Linked DNA regions of Homo sapiens: region 1 is linked to region 2. Evidence: promoter capture Hi-C in human tissues and cell types (Jung and others, 2019). All regions are on one chromosome and are shown on one strand. The core of a region is centred on a gene start or on the middle of the fragment in contact, and the rest is flanking DNA. Distances in the headings are between cores, read along the strand shown. Region 1 has its middle 13 kb from the start of TAS2R7. Region 2 holds the start of TAS2R10 (taste 2 receptor member 10).

Region 1 (5,120 bases), core at 1,530-4,029, 36 kb before region 2:
CAAAAAATCATTGCCCAGACCAATGTCAAGAAGTTTTGTTCTATGTTTTTTTTTTTTTGTTTTTTTTTTTGAGACAGAGTCTTGCTCTGTCACCCAGGCTAGAGTGCAGTGGTGCGATCTCAGCTCACTGCAACCTCTATCTCTTGGGTTCATGCAATTCTTCTGCCTCAGCCTCCCGAGTAACTGGGACTACAGGTGTGTGCCACCACACTAGGCTAATTTTTGTATTTTTAGTAGAGACCAAGTTTCACCATGTTGGCCAGGCTGGTCTTCAACTCCTGACCCTGTGATCCACTTACCTCGGCCTTCCAAAGTGCTGGGATTATAGGCATGAGCCACCGCGCCCAGCCTCTATGTTTTTTTTAAAAGTAGGGTTACAGTTTCTGATCTCACCTTTAGTTCATTTTGAGTGCATTTTTATAGATGGTGTGAGATAAGTGTTTACTTTCATTCTTCCACATGTGGATATCCAGTTCTCCCAACAGCATTTATTGAAGAGACTATCCTTTTCCCCATTGTGTGTTCTTGAAATCCTTGTCAAAGATTAGTTGAATATAAATGCATGAATTTCTTTCTGGATTCTATTCTGTCCCATTAGTCTATATGCTTGTTATTATGCCAGCACCATAATGTTTTGATTACTGCTGCTTTGTAATAGAGATAAATATAATCTATACCTCAATTTATTTCTTACAACATTGGAATGATAATAGTACCTATTTTGCAAGGTTGTCAGGATTAGATTAAATAATAAGATGGCTAAAAGGGCTTACACAATACTTTGGGCATATATTGTCAGTCTCAAGTTTGGGCATATGAATATTAAAATCAAGATCATGACTCATTAATTCTAAAGAGCAGGGGGTGAAGGTAAAAGTTACATTTGGAAGAAGGCTTTAGGGAGTAAAATGAAGGTCAATTATCAGTGAAAGCAGGTAAAGGTCAAAGCCTCATAGAGCCATGTGGAATTAAAGGCTAAAACAATTTAATTATTGGATGATAGAAAGGAAGGTGTCAAGTGTTTACTGGAGCAAAAACTAGACTTCAAGTGATGCTTAAAGGCCAAGATCTGAACCTGGCAGAAGCAAATCAGGAAGTGGGAAGTTAAGACTTAAGGCAAATTGCAGGGTAGTTCTTTTTCATTTTATTAGACTACAGCTTGCTGGCTAGGGTCTTCATTTTTAACAGTATTTTAAAAATGTTAAAACTTATCATTAATGTTTAAACAACATAGGAGCATAAACAGAAAAAGTCTTACTGACTTCCACCACAATTTCATTTCCAGAAATACATCACTAATAACATTTTTGTCTGTAATTTGAAATATTTTCTGAACACAAATCTGTCTCATATATATATGCATATATTAGGTTGGTGCAAAAGTAAGTGATGGCAAAACTGCACTTAGTTTTACACCAATTTATATTAATGAAAATGAAAGAAAAATGGTCACTGCTATTAATAAAAATGAAAATGAACACACTACTGCTACATTCAACAAAATGCTGAGTGAAAAAATCATTATATATATGTGTATACATATTCCTTTTATGTAGAAATGGGATCATGCTAATCTTTGTTTTTATTTAATAATATAGTTAGGATATAATTCCATATGCATGCCACACATTTATATCTCCTGAATTCTTTTTAATAACTGAATTATATATTTTTTGTATTGGTGATCTATAAGTTATTTAACAAATTTGATGAACATTTATATTGTTACCAGTATTTTGCTATTATAAGCAGTGCTGCAATAAAATTTCTTATTCATTTATTTACCTATTATGCAATAATAGTTGCAGGATAAATTCTAAGACTGAGATTTCTGGATAAAACACCAGGCACACTTTACATGTTGATAGTTTGTACAACTGGTCTTCCAAAAATTGCATCAATTTGAACTCCCCAAAGGTATAAGAGAATGGCTGCTTCCTATATTCTTACTAACAAAGTTTTAAACAAATTATATAGTGTACACAAATGTATATCATGTAATTAATAATTTTTAAGTAAATATTGTTAAAATGTAATATACCTCTAGAAAAATGTACAAATTATAACTATGCAGATTTACAGATATTTATACAGCAAACACATCTATGTAATGCAGTCCAGCTCACTAAGTCATACACGAATATTTTACATTATATTATAACACTCCAAAGGAATCCCTTGTACTGTTTCTCAGATACTACTCTCCACTGCCTGTACACATATCTTTCATGTTGATTAGTTTTACTGTTTCAAACTTTATGTAAAGTGTAACAATATAATATTTACTCTTCCCAGTTCAGTTTCTTTCACTCAGCATTTTCTATGAGTATGGTAGGAGTAGTGTTATTTTCATTGCTATATAATATTCCATTCCATGACTATACTACAATTTACTCATCTATTTTCCTGCTGACAGGCATATGAGTTATTTCTAATTTGGGCTATTTCAAATCATACTGTTAATAATCATACACATTTTTTAGTGCACATATCTTACATTACTGTTGTGTCTATTTCTGGAACAAAAATTGCTAGGTCATAGAATATGGGCATGTTTGGCTTTAGTACCTACTGCCAAATCTTTTTCCAAGTTGTTTGTATTAATTGATACTTTTCACCAAATACGTCACCCCTGCTGATTTCACATTTAGAAAATGGCATCTCCTAGCTTTAGTGTACAATTCCTTAACTTTATGTGTCATATATTATTGTTTTTTATGTTTATTAGGCAAGCCTGAATTTTATTTCCTTGTGAATAACTGTACCCACCTCTCTCTACTACCTGGATACTTCTATAAAATAAAATACAGTCATGCATTGTTTAATGATGGCAATACACCTGAAAAATGTGTTGTTAGGTGATTTTATCATTGTGTGAACATGATTTAGTGTACTCACAAAAACCTAGGTGGCATAGCCTACTACACACCTAGGCTATATGGTGCAGCCTATTGCTCCTAGACTACAAACTTGTACAGCATGTCACTGCACTGAAAACTGTAGGCACTTGTAACAGAGTTGTATTTGTGCATACTAAGCATAGAAAAGGTATAGTAAAAATATAGTATAAAAGATTAAAAAACAATACACCTATATAGAGAACTGTATTAGTGTGCTCTCACATTGCTAATAAAGACATACCTGAGACTGGGTAATTTATAAAGAAAAAGAGATTCAATAGACTCACAGTTTCACATGGCTAGGGAGGCCTCACAATCAAGGTGGAAGGTAAAGGAGGAGCAGAGACGTCTCTTACATGACGGCAGGCAAGAGAAGTGCCGAGCAAAAGGGGGAAAAGCTTCATATAAAACTATCGGATCTTGTGAGAACTCGCTCATTATCACGAGAGCAGCATAAGGGTAACTGCCCCAGTGATTCAATTACCTCCACCTGAGCCTGCCCTTAACACATGGGGATTATTACAATTCGAAGTAAGATGTGGGTGGGGACACAGCCAAACCATATCATCCCGCCCCCTCCCAAATCTCATGTCCTCACATTTCAAAACCAATCATACCTTCCCAGCAGTCCCCCAAAGTCTTAAGTCATTTCAGCATTCACTCAAAAGTCAACAGTTTAAAGTCTCATCTGAGACAAGGCAAGTCTCTTCCACCTAGGAACCTGTAAAATTAAAAGCAATTTAGTTACTTTCCAGATACAGTGGCAGTACAGGCATTGGGTAAATACACCCATTCCAAATGGGAGAAATTGCCCACAGCATGGGGCTACAGGCCCCATGCAGGTCCAAAATCCAATGGGGCAGTCAAATCTTAAAGCTCCAAAATGATCTCTTTTGATTCCATGTCTCACATCTAGGTTATGCTGATGCAAAAGGTGGGCTGCCACAGCCCTGGGCAGCTCCGCCTCTGTGGGTTTGCAAGGTACAACCTCCCTCTTGACTGCTTTCACAGGCTGGTGTTGAGTGTCTGCAGTTTTTCCAGGTACATGGTGCAAGTTGTTGGTGGATCTACCATTTTGGGGTGTAGAGGATGGTGACCCTCTTCTCACAGCTCCACTAGGCAGTGCCCAAGTGGGGACTCTGTGTGAGGTCTCCAACCCCACATTTCCCTTCCACACTGCCTTAGCAGAAGTTCTCCATGAGGGCCCAGCCCCTGCAGCACACCTCTGCCTGGACATCCACGCATTTCCACACATTCTCTGAAATCTAGGTGGAGGTTCCCAAACCTCAATTATTGACTTCTGTGCACCTGCAGACTCAACACCACATGGAAGCTGCCAAAACTTGGGGCTTGTACCCCCTGAAGCCATGACCTGAGCTGTACCTTGGCCCCTTTTAGCCATGGCTGGAGCAGCTGGGATGCAGGGCACTAAGTCCCTAGGCTGCACACAACAGGGCGGCCCTGGGGCCAGCCCCTGAAACCATTTTTTTCCTCCTAGGCCTCTGGGCCTGAGATGGGAGGGGCTGCTGCAAAGGTCTCTGACATGCCCCGAAGACGTTTTCCCCATTGTCTTGGTGATTAACATTGGGCTTCTCATTACTTACGCAAATTTCTGTAGCAGGCTTGAATTTCTTCCCAGAAAATGGGTTTTTCTTTTTTACTGCATTGTCAGGCTACAAATTTCCCAAACTTTTATTTTCTGCTTCCTCTTGAACCATTTTGCCACTTAAAAATTTCTTCTTCCAGATACCCTTAATCATCTCTCTCAAAGTTCCACAGAACTCTATTGCAGAGGCAAAATGCCACCAGTCTCTTCGCATAGCAAGAGTGACCTTTACTTCAGTTCCCAAAAGTTCCTCATCTTCATCTGAGACCACCTCAACCCGGACCTTATTGTTCATATCGCTATCAGCATTTTGGTCAAAGCCATTCAACCAGTCTCTAGGAAGTTCCAAACTCTCCCACATCTTTTTGTCTTCTGAGTACTCCAAACCTCTAGGAAGTTCCAAACTTTGTCACATTTTCCTGTCTTCTTCTGAGCCCTCCAAACTGTTCCAACCTCTGCCTGTTACCCATTTCCAAAGTTGCTTCCACATTTTCGGTATCTTTACAGCAGTGCCCCACGACCTGGTACCAATTTATTATATTAGTCTGTTCTCACGTTGCTAATAGACATGCCTGTGACTGGGTAATTTATAAGGAAAAAGAAGTTTAATGGAC
Region 2 (5,273 bases), core at 282-2,781:
ATGTTAGATTCTAAAAAATGAAAAAAAAACCTTTAAATAATTAAAATAGCATTCTGTAAAGAAGTACCACCATCTATCCTCACTTCCATGTTCTAAATGTCAAGATTGATCTAATTTTCTTTCTTTCTTTTTTTTCCTTTGGGTTTTCTGGGAGAATGGGTGTCCTTGCTTCAGAAAAGTCAGGTAAAGCACAACAAGAAGTTTTATTTTAGAGCTTATTCTCACCGTTATAATCTTTACAGCGAATAGTCTCCAGGCTGATGGTCTTCCTCTAGGAAGTTTGTAGGAAGAAGTTGCAGGGTGGGGAAGCTGACTAAGCCACTGAATTTGCATGTGAGATTAAAATCTCCTCAAAGACTGAGATTCCCTGAAACATAGTCAAAACAATTATGGAAGATTTCAGTGATCTTTAATGACACAGTTAAAAAGACAATGCAAGAATGCAGTGCAATGAAACAGATCTTCAAGGATTTATTCACTGGATTCCTTTCGTGGAACATCCATCTCTTCCCAAGGTGTCTATGTGACTCTGAGATTTTTCCTTTTCTCACAGCACTTCAATTGCTGCAGTACCCTCAAAGAGGCTTGCTTTAGCTTGCTGTTTCCTAGAATTAAGATAAATGAGTGACCCCAGGGATAGATGGCTGTGGTTGTCATTCCAAACATAAGCAGCAGTTTGTTTTCTCGCACAGTAAAACATGATATTTCTATGGCCATGCCTATAAAATACAAGATAAAGAGGATGATGAAAGATATCAAAACTTTCATTGCCTTCACATGAGCTTCTGTGTTGGAGTCTCTCAATCCTGTCACATTCGATTGCATCTGCCTGTTGTGTCTCCAAAGGGAAATGATTAAAAAAATACATGTAATTAGGGATAGTGTAAAGAAGAAAATGACTCCCAGATTTAGCAAAATCTGTTTAATAAAGTATTCACTTTTATACATGTTGAGATCCCAGACTGTGTCATTCTTCGTTTTATAATCATTAAGAATCTTCGCAATGTATGCAAAATTAAGTAACGATGAAATAAGTAAGAATACTATCATGAAGGGAAGAACCATATTTGTTCTGCTCTTCAACCAGAGAAATATGTAGTTGGAAAAATTTGCTATCTTCAGGAAATAGAAGATGCTGAGGCTGGTGGCAAACCACATACTTGATTGATTACCAATTACCCAAAAGTAACTAATATATTCAATTAGGTTACCGGAGGCATATATATTTGGAGAGAATATCTGTATAAATCCATCTGTAATTATTATCCATATCAGAAAAATTCTTGAAATAGCTAAGCCGGTGAGAATAAAGCCAATCGTAGATAACTTATTCTTGGCACAGTCAATGCAGTTTACAAGTCCAATAAATCCATTCCCCAAAACCCCAAACACTGACTCACTAACTACAACAAAAATGAAGATGCCTTCCACTACACGTAGCATATCTGCTAATTCTTAATATTGCTTCTGTTACATCTATCTTAGATTACCTGCTGCAGAATGAGGCATATATTGGCTGCTCGACGGAAGTGTGACTTTCTTCTCTTTCATTATATAAAGACTTGAAATTGCCCCAGTAATGGCTTGAGATGGAATCAGAAATTTCTTAATGAAGACCTTTCCAAATATGTCTACAAAACATAGCTAGTCTGGAGAATGTATGTTCAGACTGAATGCCTATCTATAATTTGTTAAAATGCAAATGAAAGTTTCTGTTTCATGGATTTTACATGTCCTCCTGAGACTATTTTGCATTTAATAAATTGAATTGTGGAGGAGGAGTGCCAAACATATACCTATAGAATGTAATGCAAAACAGAAACAAAAATTTTGACTTTATCTTTTAAAATATCAAATCATTATTTATGTCATTTATAATCAATTTATATATGTACAGAAAATACTATATAGAAATGAAAAACAAATTTAGCCACTGTAGATACTTACTCTAAATGATCGATTTAATTTTTAATTAAAATTTAAGCTCAACTCTAGGTATGACAAGTTTCACAAATATGTCACAAATCTGTTGCTGTTGTTTTATACTTATGGTTATTACACCCTTGAATGCAGAAGATTATGTTGACTACCCTTGACATGAAAGGCTCTTAGGAATAATCTCTTCATTTAACACATTACTGTTTGCTGGCACCCATTCATTTATCCAACAAGTATTTACTGAATGTCTAGATACAACAAGCTCTCTTTTGATCTTTGAGGGAATATAGTGGTAGACAGAATTTCAAAACTTGTGTGATTTATGGAGTGTATATTCTAATGAGGGAGGTGGGAAACAATTAAGTAAATCAACATACTGATCTAAGAATTAAAAGTGAAATTAAAAGTGAAATCTAACATTTATTGAGCTTTTATTATATTCCTAGCGCTATGTTAAGTATCTTTTTCTCATCTTAATTTCACAAGCCTTCAATCCTTTAAAAGAGGGGCTATTTTTGTATTTACATTAAATATGAATAAACTAAGCTTTGGAGAAAAGAAGACCTTCTCTCACTTATCCTGGCATGACTACCATAAATAAAATTGCACAATGATTTCAAAATGAAGTTAAATTAAGCTTAGGAATAGACTACAAATGATAGCAAAACAAAACAAACCAACCAAAAGCAAGTAGAAAACTTAAATTCTCATGGGCTGCACATACTGAAATTGACAGATAAGAATATGTATAGATAAATTAGCTAATGTATACACTGTTTACAAAAAACAAGATGCAATTTCAGAGAAGAGCAGCAAGAGACTGTTAGAAAGAAATTGGAACATTTGGGGAAAAAACTTCTAGAAATGGAGAATATAATTATATAAAATGTAAATGAACTAAATACTCCAAGTAAAAAATTAATAGTAACAAAGAAGAATTTAAAACTCTGACTGTATACTGCTTACAAGAAACACAATTTAAATATAGAAAAGGAAAACTTTAAAGTAAAATTATGGAAAAATAAGCCATGCAAACATCATCCAAAAGAAATCTGGCATAATTATAACAATATTCTATAAAGCAGACTTTAAGGTAAGAAGCAGCATTAGAGAAGAAATGGGGAGTGTACTTTATAGTGATAAAAATGCTCAAATCTACAGAAAGGTAGGGTAATCCCAAAAATTTATGAACCAAATAATCTACCAAACATTTACAGAAAAGGAAAAATAAGACAAATCTACAATCACAATGAAAGACTGTAAAATACATAACTCAATAACTCATCTTAGAAACACCAAAAATCAATAGATGGAAAATACATGAAAAAACAATTGACAAACTTGTGTTCAACGGTAAAATAATTCATATTCTTTTCAAGTGCACATAGACTATTTTTACCAAGACTGATCATGAATCCAAAAGAATATCTCACAAGTGTTGAATGTTCTCTGAATTCAAAGGAATAAAATGAAGTTCAATAATAAAAAGATAACTAGAGAAAGAAACAATTTACTAAGACAAAAAACCTGTAAATACTCTTGAGTCAAAGAAGAAATAACAAAAATTACAAAAATATTTTTAAGTAAATAATACAGGTTGTGTATCCCTTATCTGAAATGTGTGAGACCAGAGAGCTTTGGATTTCGGATTTTTTTTTCTTTTTTTTTAAGTTTTGGAACATTTGCATCATACTGATTAAGCATCTCGAATTCAAAAATTTGAAATCCAAAATGTTCCAATGAGCATATCCTTTGAGCGTCATGTCAGCGCTCAAAGAGTTTCAGATTTTGGAGCATTTCAAATTTCAGATTTTTGGATTAGGGATACTCAACGTGTAATAAAGAAATGACCTATTAAAATTTACATAATCCAATTAAAGCCATTCTTTGAAGGAAATTTGTAGCCTTGAATGCATCTTTTAGAAAGGCAGGGTAAAAACAGATGAATTTTGTTTTCATCTCAAGAAGCTAGAAAGCTAAGAGTGAAAGAAAATAGAAGTCAAGAAATTATAGTAACAGCAGAAATCACCGATAGAAAAGAATTAGGTACAGTAATATACTAATGTTGGTCAAAAGAAAATACAAATTACTACAGTCCTTAGAGATATCAGAAATATGGCCTGGGTGTGGTAGCTAATGCCTGTCATTTCAGCACTTTGGGAGGCCCAGGTGTGAGAATCACTTGAGTCCAGGAGTTTGAGACCAGCCTGGGAAACATAGCAAGACCTTATCTCTACTAAAAAAAATAAATAAATAAAAATAATTTAGCAGGGCATGGTGGTGTGCACCTGTAGTCCCAGCTACTTGGGAGGCCGAGCAGGAGGATTGCCTGAGCCCAGGAGTTTGAACTTGCAGTGAGCTATAATTGGGCCACTGCACTCCAGCCTGGGTGACAGAGTGAGACCTCATCTCTCTCTCTCTCTTTCTCTGTCTCTCTCTCTCTCTCTCTATACATACATATATATACATATATATATATACATATACATATATATATATATATAATACTATATAATATAGTTACATATCCTTGTATATAATCTTTTATTATAAGACAATACTGTGAACAACTTTATACAAAATTTCATCAAGAATACTTATAAGACTATTACAGGCTAATATAGCCTGAACATAGATGCAAAAATTCCAAACAAAATAGAGTCCAGCGATATATAAAAGAATAATTCATTATAACAAATGGAGTTTTAAAAGCCAATTGTGAGATTAAAATGAAATAATTGAAGATACAGTCAATTAACACAAAAGAAAGCCAGAAAAAGGACAGAGGGACAAAAATAAGTGAGATAAATGAAAAACATTGAGCAAAATGCAAGACTTACAGCCAACCATACTGATAATTACATTAAACATGATTTGACTAAACACTCTGATGAAAAGATAGAGATCATCAGAATGAATAAATGAAAGCACAATTAAATGTTATGCCTAGAAGATAAAACATTAAACATAAAGGCACAGATAGATTGAATGTAAAGGAAAGAAAAAGCTATACTATGGAATTTGTAACCATAGAAAGCAGGACTGGTTCTATTCTCAAAGTGGCTATATTATCAAGACAAGTAGTAGAAAAATAGAGGGAAGTTGTATAATGATAAAATATTCAATTTATCAAAAATACTTAACAATCCTGAAGGTGTATCAGACTAATAATTGTGACTCAAAATAAATAAAGCAAAATTAACAGAACTAAAGCAAGTGATAGGCATAGCAAAGATTTAAAAACCCCTTTGCTGTGATCTGCATGTGTCTCCTCCAAAGTCTATATGTTGAAACTTAATTGCCAGTGTGCCAGTATTAAGAGATGGTTCCTTTAG

Evidence for each region. Contacts are between HindIII fragments. The study calls those that stand out against the background at their distance.
Region 1: a contact is called between a fragment that was not itself captured here and the fragment with the promoter of TAS2R10 in region 2, in 2 of the 25 tissues and cell types used here (psoas muscle and small bowel).

What each region holds. Positions count from the first base shown.
Region 1 is chr12:10,787,555-10,792,674 of GRCh38, forward strand. No RefSeq gene overlaps it. Among named protein-coding and RNA genes, the nearest start is that of TAS2R7, 13 kb to the right of the region's middle. The HindIII fragment of the contact is 8,880 bases long and covers 1-5,120 here.
Region 2 is chr12:10,824,827-10,830,099 of GRCh38, forward strand. TAS2R10 (taste 2 receptor member 10) reads right to left here and starts at 1,532. Exons shown (of 1, transcript NM_023921.2): 1 at 393-1,532. The coding sequence starts at 1,443. The coding sequence ends at 520. The HindIII fragment of the contact is 9,660 bases long and covers 1-2,529 here.